Linked DNA regions of Homo sapiens: region 1 is linked to region 2. The links are contacts of gene promoters, found by promoter capture Hi-C in human tissues and cell types (Jung and others, 2019). All regions are on one chromosome and are shown on one strand. The core of a region is centred on a gene start or on the middle of the fragment in contact, and the rest is flanking DNA. Distances in the headings are between cores, read along the strand shown. Region 1 overlaps PLEKHA6 (pleckstrin homology domain containing A6). Region 2 holds the start of KISS1 (KiSS-1 metastasis suppressor).

Evidence for each region. The method cuts DNA at HindIII sites, captures the fragments that hold promoters and counts their contacts. A contact is called where the count stands out against the background at its distance.
Region 1: a contact is called between a fragment that was not itself captured here and the fragment with the promoter of KISS1 in region 2, in 2 of the 25 tissues and cell types used here (aorta and mesendoderm cells).

What each region holds. Positions count from the first base shown.
Region 1 is chr1:204,280,017-204,286,816 of GRCh38, forward strand. The region is part of intron 1 of PLEKHA6 (pleckstrin homology domain containing A6); the gene reads right to left. Among named protein-coding and RNA genes, the nearest start is that of GOLT1A, 69 kb to the left of the region's middle. RefSeq lists a silencer at 2,699-2,902 and enhancers at 3,487-3,988, 3,989-4,488. The HindIII fragment of the contact is 6,858 bases long and covers 1-6,419 here.
Region 2 is chr1:204,190,611-204,197,750 of GRCh38, forward strand. KISS1 (KiSS-1 metastasis suppressor) reads right to left here and starts at 5,881. Exons shown (of 3, transcript NM_002256.4): 1 at 5,766-5,881; 2 at 2,164-2,304; 3 at 1-187. The coding sequence starts at 2,266. The HindIII fragment of the contact is 9,045 bases long and covers 1,759-7,140 here.

The DNA of each region.
Region 1 (6,800 bases), core at 1,741-4,240, 87 kb after region 2:
AGTCCCAGGCTTAAGAAGATCGTGTATGGGGCACAGGCTGGGAGTGCCAGGGGCAGGCACTCTGGAAGTCTCAAGAGCGATAAATTACAAAGAAAAGAAGCAGATCCTCTCTATTTTTCCAGGCCTTTGTCTCTGCACCTATTTAAAGCTTTCCTGTAGTTCAAGAGACATCCTCAACCCCTACAGTACCTCACATAGAGATAACTCTGCATTGCTTCATCTCCAAACATCCCCCTGGAGAGTCAGCCTCCACGTGCAGTATACCTGGCACTACACTGTCAAGAGTGGCAAAATTAATCCAAGTTTCACGATCTTTTGCAGGCATGTATGTTTACACATGCACACACACTCCCAGGCTGGATGCCCAGAACCCCACTGTGATCAATATTGAACGACTGGAGAAATACTCCACTCCTTCCACCCACTGGGCCTCTCTTGATTATCTGCTGTACACCAAGCTGCTTCATTTCCATAGCTCCTGAGAATCTGCTGACAAAGAATTAGCCCTGGCCCAGCTTCCCCATCCTGAGGACGCCTTGGCTTCCAGCATTACAGCTCATTAGGTGGAGAGAGGTTTGCATGCAAGGCAAGTGGAAAGGGGGTCCCATCCCTTCCACTTCCTTCTTTCTCCCAGCTAGCAAATTCCAAGCCGAGACTGTCCATGCTCCAGAGAGGATTTCTGCTGCCACAGAGGAGGGGAAGGTGGGGAGAAGGTTGGCTCCTGCTCTGTGCCTCCCCATCTGGATCTCATCATTATTTTCAAGGAGGCTTATCTGCTTCAGCATCCTGTCCCAATTAAAAACCAACTCAGTTTATGTTTCCAGCCATCTTCATGCACCTGATTCCTGAAGCTCCCCCTGCCATTTCCAGGAGAAAATACACTTTCCTAGCCACTTCTCATCAGAGGCCCTCTGTTTTCCTACCTATTGCTGCCACATAAAGAAGAGGTCAAAGAGGGTCAGGCCCTGGCAGCACTTCTAGGTATTTGCAGGTGGGAAGGAACCCCTCCAAACAACACTGCCTTAGCCAGGCATGGTAGCACATGTCTGTAGTCCCAGCTACTCAGAGGCAGAGGCAGGAGGATCACTTGAGCCCAGGAGGTCGAGACTGCAGTGAACTATGATCACACCACTGCACCCCAACCTGAGGCACAAGACCCTCGTCACTAAAAAACAACAGAGCAAGGCCCCCATCTCTAAAAAAAACCAAAAACAAACAAACAAAAAAGGCCGGGGGCGGTGGCTCACACCTGTCACCCCAGCACTTTGGGAGGCAGAGGCGGGCAGATCACGAGGTCAGGAGATCAAGACCATCCTGGCTAACACAGTGAAACCCTGTCTCTACTAAAAATACAAAAAATTAGCCGGGCCTGGTGGCGGGCACCTGTAGTCCCAGCTACTCAGGAGGCTGAGGCAGGAGAATGGCGTGAACCCAGGAGGTGGAGCTTGCAGTGAGCCGAGATTGCGCCACTGCACTCCAGCCTGGGCAACAGACAGAGATTCCGTCTCAAAAAAACAAAAAAAACAGAGTAAGACCCCTGTCTCTAAAAAACAACAGAGCAAGACCCTCCTGTCTCTAAAAACAACAACCCCTACTGTCTCTCTTCCATGTGCTCCTTGAAGATCAAAATACCAGTTCTCTGGGTGCTGGGAACCAGCTGCCAGTGGCTGTCACCCAGCCTTGTATTTGCTTTCACCTTTCTTCTCTGCCCTTGCTCATCCCCCCTTTGATGCCACAGTTATTTCCAAACTGTCAAGAAGATGGTACCTCCCTGCCCCAAGCCAGTTTATTGAAATGTTCTAAGCTACTCGGCTGCATGTCTAGGAGACAAGACTCATGCTGCTCCCTTTCCTGCTTCACTCTGCCCAGCCACACCGCACCCCCAGCCCCATCCCAAAACCTGTTATGGGCAGTTATGGAAGGCTGGGGGCCTTCTACGTGAGCTCAGCTCCCACCACAGGCAGAAGATAGAAGAGATGGCTCCGTGGACAAGGGAGAGAAATCACAAATCAGGGGGCCAGGTCCAGGTTTCTTCCCTTCCAGCTCAGGTGCTGTCCTTCCCCCATTTTCTCACTGTAGTGTCTCCCAGCCCCTGCTCTGGGCCTGGGTGGTCCCTTATTCCTATGAGAGGAGATAGGAAGGCCTAAGATGGCAGACTGAGGGCAGGAGGACAAGGTGTACTTCAGTCAGGGTAACGGGTTCAAGCTCATGTGTGTGCACGCACGTGTGTGTGCATGAGAGAAAACATGGATACTATACAGGGGAACTTCATCCTGACCTCCCACCCTAGCTTGGTTCATCTTTAAACTGGTTGTTTTACTTTAGGGAATTCCATCTGTCTGCTGAAAAATGAAGACAACCAGAGTAGATAGCATAACTCTGCCAGTGATTCAAATACTGAAGCTCTTCCATGTTGGTGGGTGAAAAGCTGCTCCCCCAAGTCCCTCGAGTGTCCCTGCCCCATCTCTGGGCCAGGGTCTGAGACCTCCTCACATCTCCATGACCCAGAGACAAAAGAGTTAATGCCTGGCACCACAGGGCCCTCCAAGACTCCAGGCCAGCATCCTTTCTGGTTGATGAATTATTGAATATCATTCCCGGGTACAGCCAGTCCTTAACTGTCTCAACACTGAAGTGTCTTCCAATTGTGGGGAACTGCGATTCTACCACCCAGAAGCTGCCATGGGCAGGCTGGGAGACACTTTCTCCTTCACCCTGACCCAAATTGGAGAACTGGGGCAATCCAGCTCCCTGGAGCTCCTCCTTGTGCTGTGTGCTCTTGTTCCCTTCTAAAGAGAGGGGGAATTCAAAGGAGAACCAGCTGCCTACAGCTCTGGGTTTTCCTCCTCTCAGCCTTTCCTCAGTAGCTAAGCCAGACAGAAGCAGAGAAAAAAGGCCCCAGCCCCCTCGCCTCCAAGTTGCCTTCTCCTGACAGCCAGCAATGTGGAACGGATCCCAAGGGGTAACAGGGCAGGGCAATAATTAATTATGCCCCCCCACCGCCCCGCCGCCTTCCAGCTCTGAGTTGAATCTCAAACCCCTGCCCTTCAGTGGCTGAGGCAGCCCAGCTGTCCGCCGCCGGGTCTATGGAAGGTCATTGAAACCATGTCTCTGCATCCCTAACTCAGCAGATCTGCTTCTGGTGTCCTACGGAGAGCAGCGACCCCACCCTGCCCCACCCAACGAAAGGAATTTTACAAAGTGGGTGTTTGGAGAGTTATGAAGCTGGCTGATCTCTCTCCTTCCCCATCCTCAAAAGCTACCAGTGCCTTCTTGGTTCCCAATCCAGCAATTTGAGAATCAAGCTGTCTGGTATCTTAGTTTTCTCATTTTAACAGTAAAACAATGGTATTGAGTGATGCCTTGTTGAGCAGACAACACAAATCTCCCACTGGACCAGAGAGCAGAGGAAGAAAGGTTATGATGCTCTGAAGGCATGTGGAATGAAGAGAAAAATAAAACGCATGCAATCTCTGGTCCTTACACTGGGAGGGAGGCAAGGAAGGCCCATTTTAGAATCAGGGAAGCTGAGGTGCATTGTCCCAGCTATAGTGACAGGAGAGGTCAGAAAAATTTGAGTCTTGGGCTCCCTTCTTTCTGTTCCTGCGATGCACCCAATCTGAGCTCCCTGCCCCTAGGAAAGCAGGAGAGAGCTTCATGGTTCAGGGGGAGATGCCAGCTTTTCAAGGTCTGCTCCAAGAACACAGTAATGAAAGCCACAAACTCTTTCACTGGTAATATCTGTGGGCTACAGGTCTGGGGACTGTGTGTGATGTGGGCTGGGGGCTACCCACAAACTTTAGTCTGACAACAGCTGCCTGGATGTAGGGGCATGGAAGGGCAGCCACACAAACACTGTCCACAGCCTGGCCTTTATTGCTGTGCCCCTGCCCAGCACCTCACACACAGGGGAACTGAATAACTGTTTGAGTTTGATGGAGCAGCTGTAGGGCAGGCCAGCAGGCTCACCACTGCCTGGAGGAGGGGGCACGTGCTGTTCCAGTTGGGATGCTGAATAGCGGCTGAAGGAGACAGGAGCTCAGCCTCAAATCCCTCTCGCCGGGATCAGTGTGCACAGTGCATCTGCTTCATGCCCCCTCCTGTCCCTCCCCTCCCTACTGGCCAGCCAGACTCTGATAAGAGTCTACAAAGCAGAAGCTTTGCCCTGGGAAGAGGAAAGCAGTAAACCAGCCAGAGCTGGAGAGCAGGAGCCTCCTGGCTGGAGGGTAGCACAGCAAGGGTTGAGGGGCAACAGCAGGCTCTAATGTAGTGCTGCTCCTCACCTGCCCAGGGAGACCCATTCTGCCTCCGGCCCCCAAGGAGGGCTCAGCTGATGTTCTCTCTCAGACTGGGAGTAATAGGGTAAGCTGGAGCCAGGTGGATTGTGGGAAATTATGAACACCTCCTTTTGCCAGGAGCAAGGAATCTGGAACTTCCCCTGTACTTGGGGAGCTTGCCAAGGACTCTGAGGGCAAAGCGATATCCCTGCACTGCTGCCTGCTGGTGGGGGATCCAAAGGGAGCCTAGGAACAAGGGCCACCCAAGGAACCAGCCAGAAAATGACTGTGCCTAGGAGAGCACTTGCTGCAGACTGAGACGATCCTTTGTGAGCTCCCCTGACGCCCCCGAGAGGAAGAGGGAGATCTGGAAAGGGACTGGAGAGTTGTGAAAAAAGCTGGCACATGATGGCAAGGAATGGACAGCGTGTGGATTGTCCTTAAGGAAAAGGGTAAGGCCGGTGGTCTCAGAGTCAGGAGTCTTGGTAACTGACCACTACTGAGTCACTGTCCCTTTCTGGGTCTCAGTTTCCCCACCTGCAACATGTAACGATACTGGAGTTGCTGGGAGGACTAAATATTTAAAACCTCTAGAAGAATGCCTGGCACATTGAGTTGTTTAGTAGTGGCTAATGTTATAATCATTAATAAAATAAGGGAATACAATAAATAGCACTATCCTAAATTTGCACCAAGTTGATAGCCACTAGCCGTATTCTATCTTGAATAATTAAAATTAAATAAAATTAAAATTTCAGTTCCTAGTTACACTAGCCACATTTCACTGTGTCTCAAGAGCCACAGTAGCTAGTGGTTACCATACGGGACAGAATAGTCACAGGACATTCCATCATTGTAGAACATTCTATTGGACAGCACTAGGCTAGATGTTCTCTAAGCCACCTTCCAGTTCTAATAGTTTTGAATTCTATGAAATGCAATTCTAAGCCAGTGTATCCTTCCACCAGCTGATGAGCTCAGTGTCTTCAGTAAATACAAGTTCCCTCATAGACCTAAACTAAGCTAAAAAGAAAGGAAAATCTGCTGTCAACAACAAAAAGTTAAAAATCAGAAATGATATACTCCAAAGTTCACTCAGAATTAATCTGGACAATCCATTGTTTTCGTTTTTTTGGGTTTTTTGTTGTTTTTGTTGTTGTTGTTGGTTTTTTTTTGGTTGTTTTTGTTTTTGTTTTTTTTGAGACACGTTCTTGTTCTGTATCCCAGGCTGGAGTTCAGTAGTGCGATTTTGGCTCACCGCAGGCTCCGCTCCCTGAGCTCAAGCAATTCTCCCACCTCAGCCTCCCCAGTAGCTGGAACGTCAGGCACGGGCCACCACGCTTGGCTAATTTGTTGTATTTTTAGTAGAGACACGGTCTCGCCGTGTTGGCCAGGCTCATTATTTTTAAATCACATGCATTAAGACTCCTCTGCACAGTTTGAAAGTATCATTACTAACAGCACTGGCCTGGTAGGAAACACTGGAAAAGGTCATCCAGCAGCTTAAGGAGGCTGGGAGAGAAGAGTTGGAGAAGGAAGAAGAGTTGGGGAGGAGGCTGGAGACACAGAGGACCTGTTCCTCCCTCCTGCTTTCCTTTTCCTTCCTGGATTGGCCAACCTCTAGCTGACGCTTGGGGGAGGAGGAGGAAAGGGAGGTCTTCTGTGGGGCCATTTGGTCCAGAGCAGGAGAAGCTGGCATGGAGGAGGACAGGGTAGAGGAAGTACCACCAAGGACAGCAGGCTTAGGATTCTTCCTTCCCTGCACCTCCCCTTCCCCACCCAGCACTCATCCAGACCTGGATCCTATGGAAATCACAGGTAAACAACCTGTTGCTAAGCAGACATCACAAGAAGCAGGTGCCAGAGAGCATCCACTGATAACCGGGGCTTACAGAGGGGAGGGAAGACAATCTCAGAGGAACGGAAGAGGTGCTCCTAGGCCTAGACCTAGCCTAGAGAACCTGCTGGCTATAGCCCAGATAAGGAAAAGAGAGGGCCTGAGAAGGAAGGCAGGGAGGCAGTCAGACAAGGGACACTGCTGTTCCCACCCCTGTCCTGCCACGCAGCAGCCGTGAAGAAAGACTGGGCATGGAGGCTGTGACAAGGAGGAATAGAGTACTCTGGGAGGGGAACAGAGAGGAGGAAAGGGAAAGGGATGCAGCACAGGTGCCAGCCGGGACAGAAGCCGGCCTCCATAAGTGACACCTGAGTAACAGGTGAGCCTGCCTACACCTGTTGGAGTATATGAGCAACTATTCTGCACCTGCAACTTCTGGCTGGGCCAGGAAATAAGACCAGCTGCACAATTTGCGGGCCCCTTGTGCAAAACTTAAGGATTTCAAGACAGCAATAGCAGAGCATTAAACCAAGCATGTGGGGCAACTGCACAGTTTGCATCCCCCATGAAGCCCCCCTGCCCTGCCTGGAAATAACAATCCCAGTATACTTCTCCTGGGAGTGTAGGGATGGAGGTTGGCTAGTCACATTTGTGGCTGACTCTCAATATGAGGCAGAACACAACAA
Region 2 (7,140 bases), core at 4,631-7,130:
GGTGCGGGGATCTGGCGGCTGTGGGGGGCGGACAGGCCCGGCTGCTGGGGGCTCCCGGAGCTCTCGGGGGGCGGGGACAGCGAGGTCCCCCGACGGCTCAGCCTGGCAGTAGCAGCTGGCTTCCTCTCGGTGCACGGCAGGCTCTGCTCCCCGGGGGCCAGGAGGCCCAGGGATTCTAGCTGCTGGCCTAGGACAGAGGGCACAGAAAGATGAGGCCGGGGTCCGGGAAAGATGGCTTTGCAACACCTCCTGTCATCCCATCCTATCCTTCTTTTCCTTCCTTGACCTTTTGGAAGCTCGGAGCTCAGTGCCATGCGAACCAGCACGATCACCTTAGCTGGGATGATTAGGCCCTAGGCGCCTCCCTCTTCCAACATAGCTTTGATTTAGAATGTTTGCCAGAATTATCTTAAATAACTCTCATATTACGTTACTTCCTTTTAGGAAACAAACAGGGTAGGGCATGGAAATAAAGAAAACCAAAGTATTTGCTGAACACCCAGCTCTGGGCCCCTTCCTGGCTGTGAGCAGCCTGGGCAGTGGGGCCATGTTAATTCATCTCTGTATCTCTCATAGTGCTTGAAACAGTGGCTTGCTCATAGTGGGGCCTCAATAAATGCCTGTTAAATACATAAAAGCTAAAAACGTGTAGTAACAGAAATCGAGAAAGTGGAGCTAAGACATTGTGGCCCCACACACCTGTGTTCCAACACTCGTCTTTGATAAGAATTGTGACCACCCACCCCCCCAACCCCGCCCAATAAGCTACATAAGGACTCAATGAGAAACAAAAATTATCTAGGTCACCTTAACTGGCTCTCTTCCTCCATCCTGGGTATAACTTCTCTCCTTCATTCTGAGGATTAACAAGGCTAATTTGGAAGGCACTTCACATGCAAGGCTCATTAAGTTCACTGTACTTTTTGGCTGTAAAATAGGGCAACTAGCTCTGTGTAGACAATAACCCCAGCCCATTGCGGCAAGAGATTAGTGGAAATGAGGCCTGGTGTGTGAATGGGTGTGAATAGATGTGCTGGGGCGGCAGTTGGCTTTGAGCCCTGCTCCTCCGTGCCCTGGCACAGTCTGGAAAAGAGGAGTGTGGACCTGGTCCAGAGTTAATGGCAGTCGCCTGCGAGGTCCCTCAGCCCTTGCCCAGGGCCTGGCTGAGGTAGGAGGAGGATGGCTTCCTCCCCAGTTGCGCACGCTAGACCAGTAGTAAATCACTGTTCAGGCTGCTGTTGGTGACCTCACCTAAAGCCTTTTGCCAAAAAGAGCCAACAACCCTATATCCCTGGGCAGTGTGGGGTTATTTTCTGGGGTAGCCTCCCTCACCCAGAAAAACGCCTGATCCCAGGACAGAAGACACGCTTGGCAAACGACACCCGGGGCCGTGTCCTCTGTGCTCTGGAAGGTCTTATGGGCATATACGATGACATCAAATGTGTAGAGGGCATGCCCCAAGTTTTATAGCTGGGGGAACTCAGGTCCAGAGAAGCTAAGTCATGGGTTCTAGTTTGCCCAGAAAGCTGACACCAGGAAGTGTGCCAAGCCACAGCTCCTGACTTGGGGACTAGTATTGTTCTAGCTTGTGCCACTCACCAGACACACTCCTGGGGAGCTCTGACACCTGCTGGGTTTCCACAGTGTTTGAGCGACTCTGGGGAAATCTCTTTACCTCTGTGGGTCTCAAATTTTCCAGCTTATCAGTTCCCCAATGAACTGGAGACAGTTCATTGTCTCCAAAAGGTTAATAGGTATCAAATATCTGCCCTTTGGTTTAGGTTTTTTTTTTTTTCCAAATTCTCCACAAAGAATCTGAGGTCACCGATAAAGCAAGGTTGCATATGAAGTTTCTTCTCAACATCGGCACAGAGAGGTTGCTGACGTAGAGCAGAGAACACAGTGTGAGGAAACCATGAAAGAGCTCAAGGGTTAATAAGCCCTGGAACCTAGGTGGGCGGACTGAGGCCATCACAGAGGCAAGGCATCCGTCACTTGCAGGGTTAACAGGACCCCCTCAATGAGTTGCATGTGTGCCAGTCTTAGATTTCCACCAAATGCAATGTTAAACTCACACCAGTCGACTAGATGGAAAATACGGGAAAGCTCATTTTGCAACAACCCACTTGCTCCCTCCCACTCCTTTCCCCAGAGGATACATACCTGTGGGTCTAGAATTCCCCACAGAGGCCACCTTTTCTAATGGCTCCCCAAAGTGGGTGGCACAGAGGAAAAGCAGTAGCTGCCAAGAAACCAGTGAGTTCATCTTGGTGAGAAGAGGCAGGTCCTAGAAGTGCCTTGAGGCTGAGACAGAGAGAGGGAACAAAGACTAGGTCAGGCACAGGATCTGGGCTGGGTGCTGAGGGCAGAGCCCAGTGCAAAAGGGACAGTCCTCCAAGAGAGGGGCAAGTTCTTGCCTTTGGAGGCTCCTGGTAGAGGGATGAGTCTAAACAAATATATCAGTGAAATGGGATTGAGACTCTTTACACAGTGTAGTTAAAGCTGAATTCATGCTAGGTGAGGGTCATCAGGGAGGGCTTCCTGGAGGAGGTGAGGACAGTAAAGTTAGGAAAAAAGGAAAGACCCAATTTGGTGGAAGGGGCAGGACTGCTTGGGTCAGAGAATGGCCAGGATTCTGAATCTCAGGGTTGCTTGAGAGGAATGTTTGAGAAAGGTGGGGTGAGATGCCATATATAGGAGTGACTGGGGAGGGGTGAAGTAGGGCAAGGACTTCAGGGCACTGAGTGGGGAACTTTGAGGTTCCAATATTCTCTCGGGAGCCTGGCAACAGGCACTTCTTCCTTCCATGGTGGGTTCTGCACAAATCCACAACTTTCTGTGTTCCACTCTCCCCATCCATACGCTTGAGTCTGACCTTGTTCTCTCCTGCTGTAAGAGAAACTTATTTCTTTTTCTTTTATAAGGAAAAAGAAAGAAAGAGGCAATCATCTTGCTCTCTCTCATAGCCCTTCACAGCCTTGAAGACGGTCATTAAATTGTCTTATTGCCTATCATTCATGGAAAAGAAAAACCTTTCCTTGATTTATCAGGTCAGTTATCTCCATAGTCTATTCTTTGTGGACTCTAAGAGGCTATGAATTGAATTGGCCTCATCATTTTGGCTGCTGAGATGGGAGCCGTGTGCCCTGATCCTCACACCATTTCCCATCACCCTGCCTTGCTCTGCCCCACCGACACCCCACATACCCCACCCTACCTCTTCCGGCTCCCAAATCTAATTTCTTTTTGAAAAAGTCACCAGACACTTTGAGACTGTCCAACAAACACGATTAAAGACAAAAGGCTGGGGAGGCAGGAGCAATGCCAGCTGAGCAAAAAGATTGTCCTGGCCTGACCCACAGCCTGGAGCCGCTCTCCCTGGGGAAGGGGGACTGGGGGATGAGAACCTTTTGTGCCCATCAGCTCCTAATGGTGGCTCAGGCCCATGCATCTCTCTGCTCTTGCACCCACACCCCCACCCCCCATTCCTCACCCAGCTCCCTGCAGGACTCAGGCATGGAGTAAAGAGTAAGAACCCTGAAATGGAATGAGGAGTACTTGAATCTTGCCCCAGCTCTGCTTTCATTCCCTGTGAAATGTGAGCAAGTCACCCCCATCTCCAGACCTCATTGGTCCATCTATAAAATAAGAACCCTGGATCAGATTGGCCACCAGCCACCTGCTCAGAAGTTTACTTATCCTTGCAGACTTTGATACTGTGACAAGTTGAAACCCAGACCACAGCTTTCTGCATTTACCTTAAGGCCCAGGGCTGGGGCACGGAGTAGAGGTAGGATTAATCCATTGGAGAGAATAGTGTAAAAGCATTTCAGACCGTGGATGCACAGGGTCTGGGTTGATTTGGAAATCACTCCTTGAGCACCGACTAGGTGCTGGTGCTGTGCTAGGTGCTAGGGGTGCACAGGTGTGCTAAGACAGAGTTGCTGCCCCCAAGATCTCAAGTCTAGCATGAGAAATTAACTCATCAGCAGATCATTTCAAAATAACACTGTAAATGACATACCGGATGCATGTGAATCCACAAGGGGATATGGGAGTCCAGGGGAACCCAACCTAGGAGGACCAGGCAGATTTTTGGCAGGGGGTGGCACTTGAGCTGTTTCTGAGCATGAATCGCTGAAAGGTTTACAGAAAGTGTTCCCAGGACGGTGCTAAGGCGCTGAAGCAAGGGCAGGGGCTGAGTGCAAAGGGAACTTCAGGCCCTCTAGCTAGACAAGAGGATGGAGCTTTGCATGGAGAGAAAGCTAGTGACAAGGCTGGGGGAAGGGGCCCTGCAGGGGCTTCATCCTGGAGGGGTCTGAGCCAGACAGGAATGTGGGTAGATGTACATTTCCGGTTCTCTGTGCGGAAGCAGGGTGGTGGGCCAGGAAGGAGGGCAGTGGGCTTGTGTGGTTGGAGGGTGGTACTCTTTCTTCCGGCTCCCCTTTCCCCCCGAGTGCCTCCTTCCCACTGTGGATGGCACTTACCATGTGCGCCATGGGACAACTCTGCCTGACCCCAGCACACACACACACACCCCCCACACCACACACATACACCACACACACCACACATGCACACACACACCACACACATATATACGCACACACCCATACACATATACACGCATACACCCATACACACACATCATACACACACACATACACCACACACACCACACACATACACCCATACACACACATACACATATGCCACACACACCACACACGCATACACACCACACACATATACACACATACACCTATACACACACATCATGCACACACACCACACACGCACACACACCACACACACATATACACACATACACCCATACACACAACATACACACACACATACACACATCCATACATACACATCATACACACACATACACCACACATACCACACATGCACACACACCACACAGATATATACCCATACACCCGTACACATACACTACACACCACAGATGCACACACACGCCACACACATATACACACATACACCCATACACGTACATCATACACACACATACACCACATACACCACACATGCGCACACACATCACACACATATACACACATACACCCATACACACATATCACACACACACACACACACACACACACACACACACACAGATTCCACTGCCCAGCCCATCGGGGCACTTAACATATATGGTAGAAATGAATTATTTGGAAAGGGGCCATGAGTGGCCGACCTGCTGTAGACAATTTTTGTGGTTCCCTCCACCCTGGGGGGTTTGTATCCAGTGAGTGACAGAAATTCCAGGCATGGTTGGAAAGCTTCTGGAGTGAAGTGGCCCCTAGTTCTTAGTGGGTAGGTAGATGCCCTTGGTTAGGCTTGTATTTGCCATCTGTAATTTGGGGGGAGCTGCTCAGAGGAGCCCCATTGCTCTCAAGAGCCCCGAGCGGTTCCCTAGGTCCATCCAAGCGTGTCTGTGGTCTCTAATTCCAGCCACAGCATTTATTTATTGCATGTATTCCTTCCACAGCAAGAGAGAGCCCTCGGGATCCCCAGAGTGTTAGCTTCACAAATAAAGTGCGACTCAGTGTATTCGCCCAGGCATCCCAGGATAATCTGGCCAGGCTGGTAAACAGGAAAGATCAGTGTCTCCCTCCCCTGCCTTTGCCTGCCTGGATGCATCTGTCCGTCTTAGAACGGATTCCCTGCTCCCCTCCAGAGCATCCCCAGGTCAGGGCAGACCCCCTTCCCAGGGGTGGACACTGCAGTGTGCCTACCTTGCCTCAGTCCTGGCCTGGGCAGGAGTCTGGCGGAGCCTCTGAGGTGACGAGACCACCTGGCTGGGTGAATGTCCAGAGGGTGGGCAGCTGGGCTCCCGGTCTCAAGAGTTCTCCCCAGCTCCCTGATCACATCCCTTTTATAAAGCCCGGGGTGACGTCTCCAAGCACAGGCCCACTCTGCCGCCCCTCCCTCCTCCTCAGACCCTCCTGAAGAGCATGGCACCTTGGGAGGCCTCTGCCTCCGGGCTCTGTGACTGGAGGCAGCCTCTCCTCCTGCCCCACCCGAGCCCTCCGAGGCGGGACTTTCTCCTTCTTACCGGCTCTTTCCATCCTCCACACCCTCTTCCCACCCAGAGGACCCATCCTGCCCCCAAACAACGTGGAAATGGGCTATCTGAGGAGGGTGGGGAGAAGTGTCAGTGTGAAATGTCTTGTTTCCTCTCCGAAGAGCCACAGACACACCTAGTCTGAATTAGACGTAGAAAACGACAGGAAGAGGGGAGGAGAAGGGCACAGGCTGACCCAGGGGCTCCTCACATCCCATGCTCCCAGCTCTGAGGGAAAGCCAGGTCAGCGTGGGTCTCCAGGCGGCTCCTAGACTGCGCCCTGTGACTGGCACAGGGTGGTGGTGGCAGAGATTCTCTCCTTTTTCCTTCCTTCCTGCTTCCCTTCTTTCCTCGGTCACTGAGCGCTTCCTCAGCGCAGGGTTTTGAGGTGAATAGGCTATGGACTGGTCAGAGACCTTAGGTAAGCAACCAGCTATGAGCAAGGAGGACGAAATGGGAGCTGCAGAAGGTGGATGCACCTGGGAAGTGCCAGGGGTGCAGAGAGGGGACTTCCAGGTGGCAGCACATCCAGACAGCCTGCTTGGGGGCCCCACCTTCTTGTCTCGTGGCACCCACCACCATACTATTTTGTGACTGCTCAGGTACAGCACTTTGAGGACAGGGACAGGCCCCCTTCCCCCTGTACCCTTGGCACCCACTCCATTGCTGGGCACATACAGAGAGGGCCCTCAATAGATATTTGCTAACTGCATGCATCGCAAGTGACTTTTGTCTCTTTCTTGAGCCTGCAATAACTCTCTATACCCTTGGACAAGGGGCTCTCCAGGGCAGAGACTGTTTCTTCTATCAGGCTGGGAGTCTCTGAAGGCAGGGGCTATGTCTCTACCCTCAGACAGGACGCTCTCCCAGCACAAGCTCAACCTGGTCGTCCCCTAATGCTGGAGAAGCATGCCGGCAGTCTGCAGGTTAGCACCCCTCACTTGTCTGATGCTTACTGTTAACAGGGGATTGCAAACATATTATTATCACACCCATTAGGGCTGTTAAACACCAGGACAGAAATGATAGCCTATGAGGACAGCACT